2 separate regions of the Homo sapiens genome follow, and region 2 is linked to region 1. Evidence: promoter capture Hi-C in human tissues and cell types (Jung and others, 2019). All regions are on one chromosome and are shown on one strand. The core of a region is centred on a gene start or on the middle of the fragment in contact, and the rest is flanking DNA. Distances in the headings are between cores, read along the strand shown.

Region 1 (2,748 bases), core at 174-2,673:
TTTGAGGAGGCTTAAAGGGAGGTGCAAGCTGGGTGCGGGGGCTCATACTTGTAATCCCAGCACTTTGAGAGGAGGAGGTGGGAGAATACTTGAGCTCAGGAGTTCGAGATCAGCCTGGGCAACACCGTGAGGCCCCATTTCTACAAAAAAAATTTTTTTTAAATTAGCCAGACATGGTGGTGTGTGCCTGTGGTCCCAGCTACTTGGGAGGCTGAGGTGGGAGGATCACTTGAGCCCTGGAGTTCAAGGCTTCAGCGAGCTATGATTGTACCACTGCACTCCAGGGTGGGCGACAGAGCAAGACCCTGTCTCAATAATAATAAAAATAAAAAAAAAAAAAAGGAAAAAAAGGGGCACAGTAGACAGTACCAGTACTTGGTATTTTAAATGGTTTTCAAATGAAGCCCACCCAAGCTCAGCAAGTCCAGCCGGGGCCTGAGGACCTGAGCAGGCGCCAGGTCACACAAGGTACCGGGCGCAGGAGGCGGAGCCCGCAGCGGGCCCTGCCCTGACAGCGGCACCTGCGCGGCCTCCGCAGGTTCTGGGATCGGCCGCTGGCCAGGTGCAAGGGAGGGGGGACGGCAGCCGCTGTCCTGGGGCTGAGAGGGCTCCGCGGTCTGGAGGGGACGGCGTCAGCGCCCGCGGGGGTTCGCAGGGCAGCCCCGGGGCGACCCCCACCCCCGCCACGGTCAAGTGTCGATACAGTGTTGCCAGCCGGGTGCCAACTATGAATAAGTCCAAGGGCGCGGCACGTGGGCCGAAACGCGATCCTTCCGCGGAGCCGCTGCGCGCAGGGCCGTCCCCACCGAGCCCGCCGCGCGGCGACCCCTGACGGCGACCCTAAGCCCCGGCCGACCAGGGCAGGAGCTCGCGCGCGAAACTTCCCCGGCGCCCGCAGGAGACCCCGGCAGGGGAGATGGCGGGGCCCAGGCAGAGCTCGGAGGCCCCTCCCGGCCCCACCCCGCGCCCCGGCCCCCTCTGCCCCCGACCCGGTCCGGGGGAGCCCTCGCGGGACCCCAGCCTGGTCCTTCGCCGCCTCCCCCCGTTCAGCCCCGACCCCCCTGATCCCCGCGCCCCCCGCGGTCCCGGCCCGCCCCCTCCCCCAGCCCGGGCCCCAGCCCCGTCCGTTAGCGGATCCCACGCAGGCTCCGCGCCCGGCCCCGCCGGCGCCCTCGGCCCACACCTCTCTCCGCGCGCGTGTCCCGCCGTGTCGCCCCCGTGTCCCCTCCGCGTCCCCCCCCGCGCCGTCCCCCCGCGTCCCCCCCCGCGTCCTTCCCCCGTGTCCCCCCAGCGTGTCCCTCGGCCGCCCCGCGCGCGCCGGCGGAACTGTGGGATCGCCGCGCACAGGAAGTGGCGGCGGCGGCGCGGCCGAGGGCGGAGGGCGGAGGGCGGCGGGATGGGGGCCGGGGGCGGCGGGCGCCGCACTCGCTGAGGCCCCGACGCAGGGCCGGGCCGGGCCCAGGGCCGAGGAGCGCGGCGGCCAGAGCGGGGCCGCGGAGGCGACGCCGGGGACGCCCGCGCGACGAGCAGGTGGCGGCGGCTGCAGGTGAGCACCGAGGCCCCCACCCGAGGTCGGGCCGCCCCCCTCTTCCCCCACGCCCCGCCGCCGCCCGAGGTCGCCCTCCCGCCGCCGGAGGTCGCCCCTGCCCCAGCCGTCCGACCTCGGGCCGCCCGGGGCCCCGCGCCGCAATGGGCCGGCCGCGCTCCGCGGGGCGCGGGGCCTGGGAAGGCGCGGGGCCGGGAGGAGGTCTGGGCCCGGGTCCTGTGCGCCCCCCGCAACCCCGGCCTCCCCGGCGGCCTGGTCCAGCGCGAGGCCCCGGCCGCTTCCCGCAGCAGCCTCGGTGGCGCTGGGCCCAGCGGGGAGGCCCGGGGGTTCGGGGCGCCCGGGAGGGGCCCGGGCCGGGCCGAGGGAGGGCGAGTGGGTTCCCGCGGGGACGTCCCATCCCTCCGTCCTGGACTCTGCTCCGGGCCCCGCTCGGCTCCCCCGTGGACAGGACGCGCCCGCCGCCTGGTTTCGGGGCGCGGCGGACCCGGGACCCCCCCCAGGGGCCTCCTCCTCGCGCGCCCAGGCCAAGGGAGCAGTTTCACTTTTGCCGCTCCGCGCGGGGAGGGCTGCGGGGCCCGGGGTTGGCTGTGGGTTCGGCCCGGAGACCGGCGGCGCGTTTGCACCGGGCGGGTCAGGGGATGGGGTCAGTCCGGGGGCAAGAGCCGTGGGGGCGAAAACCCACTCCTGGCCACCCCAGGACCCTTGGAACATTGGTCCCAAGTACTTAGGAAAGGAGGGTTATTAGTATTTGAAGGCAGTTAAAAATGGTGCAGTGTTTTTTTTTTTTTTTTTAACTTTGAGAGAAGTTTAGTGACATGGGGAAAATGCTTTTATAAATGGCTTCCCAGACCTTTAAAAAAAAAAAAGCACAATTTTAAAAGCTTTGTCTAGGAGAATACTTGAGCAGTTGGGTTCTTTTTCCTGGGAAACATGATCTTAGTAGAAGAAAGATGTGGGCTGTTGGCCTCCAGACAGAGGGTGATGAGCATGCGGCTCTTATTAAAAATGAAAGCCAACGCCGAGAGCCTGCTGGGGGCTGGGAGGTGGGGCGGGCGGCGGGCCCAGGCTGCTAGAGGGACCCAGGATCCTGCAGCTTTTAAATTGCAGGCGCGGCTGCTCCGACTCGACTCGCTTAGGAATTGCTGAACTTCGTCTTCTCAGTTTGAAAGCTTCAGAGGGGTCTCCCGAGGATGCTGAGCACT
Region 2 (2,732 bases), core at 170-2,669, 400 kb after region 1:
AGGATCTCACCGTCACCCAGGCTGGAGTGCAGTGGTGTTATCATAGCTCACTGCAGCCTCGACCTCCCCAGCTCAAGCAATCCTCCCAACTCAGCCTCCTGAGTAGCTGGGACTACAGGTGCATGCCACCATGCCTGGTTAATTTTTATTTTTATTTTTTTGTAGAGACAGAGTCTCACTATGTTGCCTAGGCTGGTCTCAAACTCCTGGGCTCAAATGATCCTCCCACATTGGTCTCCCAAAGTGCTGGGATTATAGGTGTGAGCCACTGTGCCCCGTCTCTTTTGTCTGGTGTGGGCCAGTATGCAAACACTCACCTTCTATATTTCGCTGGTTAGCCTTGACTTCATATGCAATAAGATCTGGAAAGGAAGATAAGAAGTAGCCCCTTTCTTCTTCCTCTGATCTCTTAATTTAAATTCGGCCAGGAAGTGAGCATCACAATTCGTTTTCCAAAGTCACAGGAGCCTGAGGTCCCCTGCCATCCCGCCCTCACACCTTATCTTGGTGTGTTAAACGCCCATACCTGGGGGAAGACTGTGGGTGGGGAACCTCCTGCCCCAGCCCGGGTGCCTGAATAATGCATGAATACTCCAGAAGCCTGGAACTCCAGACCTCATCCAGGCCTGGGATCAGCATCCTAAGTGACTGGTCCAATAAGCAGATGAGCCCTCACCTCTGCCTGTCCCGGGTGAAACGGAGCTTGAGAGCTCACTGGATCCCACCAAAATCACGTCCATGCTGGGCTCGGCCTCTGGGTCCAGGGCTGGGATGGCCGCCATGGGGATGCTGTGTCAGGACACACGGACACAGATGTGAGAAAGCCGTCAGCCCCTGCTCAGATCCCTGATGCACCCCAGCACGGGAAGCAGCTTGCTGAGCAGACCTTGACTAGTTCAGGCCACCTGAACCCCCGCGGTGACACCCACCTGCCCAACCCAGGGATGAGGGGCAGGACAGCCAAGGCCAGTGCCAGCCCTGAGAGGGGCTCAAGGGTCCCCTGAGGCGTGCCCCCCACCTGCCTGGCCCTGTTACAACATGGAAGATGGGGCAAAAAGGGGAGGGCAGGGCCCTCATGAGGACCTGGGGCCAATGGCCGCTGCAGCCCCTGCTTTCCTCTGGGCCCAGCCTTCGACCCCTCAGGGACTCCCATGCCCCAGCCTCCTACAGTGTCCCTCAGGCCCAGCAGGGACCCCTGGGGATGGTCTTGGCCAGCCGCACCCTTGAAGGCAGCATGGTCAGGGAGTAGGAAAGAGACTCACAGGGCTGCTGCCACGGCTCCGGGTACAGCCAGCTGGTGGGTTCAAGGTTCCAGTGGTCCGGGGCTTCCAGGCTCAGGGTCCCCGGGGAGGACTGGGCCATGGAACGAGGGACGGCGCAGGCAAAGAATGAGCTGGAAGGATCCAGGCCCACCTGGGACAGCGGGTGGCCAGAGGTCACCAGGCTATGGGGGCAAAGAATCTGGGCGTGTCCCGCGGGGGCGGGGAGGGGCGGGGGCGGGGCAGCCCTTCAGTGCCGGTTTGCAGTGGGAGGGGCGAGGAGCTGCGGGGGGTCACTTGGGGTGGGGAGCTAGGAAGCTGGGGGACGGGCAGGGAAAGGGAACCCTCAGGTGGGGAGGGTTAAGAGCTCAGTGGGGCTGGGGGATTGGGGTTCAGAGGATGGGGCCCTCAGGGTGGAGTGAGGGGTGGGGTTTGGGGACCTCAGTGGGGAGTGGGGTTCAGGGGAGGGGTGGAGATGGGAGGACTGGGGATGGGGCAGATGAGGGGGGTTTCAGTAGAGGGGGGCCCTTGGGGTGGGGTGGGGGATAGGGGTGGCTGTGGGGTAGGGGCAGGGCGCTCAGAGGTGGGGTTTAGGAAGGTCATAGGGGTGGGCTTCAGGGCAAGGGTGAAGAAAGGGATGAGGGTGGAGGGTGGAGGGGTGGAGGGGTGGAGGGTGGAGGGTGGAGGGTGGAGGTAGGGCAGGGCGGGGGGTTAGGTGGAGTTGGCCCCCTGGGTGGAGATGGGTGAGGATTAGTGGAGGTGGCCCTCAGGGCAGGGTGGGTGGGTGGAGGGCGGGGCTTAGGGAGATCTGTTGGGGGATTAGGGAGTGGGGGTGGGGGTGGATGCTGAGTTGGAGATGGGGGCCTTCAGGGGAGGTGGTCCTTTGGCGGGATGGGGGTGATGATAGGGTGAGGGTGGGCACTCCGGGGCAGGGCTCAGTGGCGGGGGTCGGGGCTCAGGGCAAGGGTAGAGACGGGGTGAAAGTAGGAATGGGGGTGTGAGGCCGAGGATGGGGGTTTCAGGGGAGGTGGCCTTTAGGGCAGGATAGGGGTGAGAATGGGGTGGGGATGGGCCTCAGGGATCTCAGGGTCGGTTGGGATGGGAGTGGGGGTGGGGGTAGATGGTGAGGAGGAGATGGGGGTGTTCAGGGGAGGTGGTCCTCTGGCGGGATAGAGGGAGGGGCGTTCAGGAGCCGGGCTTGGGAGCTCAGTCTGGAGCCCCAGGTTTGGGGGGCAGCTGTGGGGGAGAGAAGGAAACAGGGAAGGCCCTGGAGGATGGGGTAAGGGGTGTTGGGTGGGGAATGTCAGGGCAGGTGGGGGGTTGGGGAGCTGGGAGGGGTAGGTTCAGGGTGGGGGTGGAACGTGGAAGCAGGGAAGGGAGCAGGAAGGTGGGGTGGGCAGAGGGGCAGTGTGGGAGGTGCGGGGTGGGTTGGGAAGGGGGACTTTGTTGGAGGGAGGTTAGGGGCTTCAGAGC

What was found. Contacts are between HindIII fragments. The study calls those that stand out against the background at their distance.
Region 2: a contact is called between the fragment with the promoter of DNMT3L here and the fragment with the promoter of AGPAT3 in region 1, in 4 of the 25 tissues and cell types used here (adrenal gland, dorsolateral prefrontal cortex, heart right ventricle and 1 more).

What each region holds. Positions count from the first base shown.
Region 1 is chr21:43,863,800-43,866,547 of GRCh38, forward strand. AGPAT3 (1-acylglycerol-3-phosphate O-acyltransferase 3) reads left to right here and starts at 1,424. Exons shown (of 10, transcript NM_020132.5): 1 at 1,424-1,546. RefSeq lists silencers at 483-842, 1,393-1,742, 1,863-2,182. The HindIII fragment of the contact is 11,781 bases long and covers 1-2,748 here.
Region 2 is chr21:44,260,478-44,263,209 of GRCh38, forward strand. DNMT3L (DNA methyltransferase 3 like) reads right to left here and starts at 1,420. Exons shown (of 12, transcript NM_175867.3): 1 at 1,263-1,420; 2 at 677-789; 3 at 318-362. The coding sequence starts at 782. RefSeq lists an enhancer at 1,135-1,694. The HindIII fragment of the contact is 12,940 bases long and covers 1-2,732 here.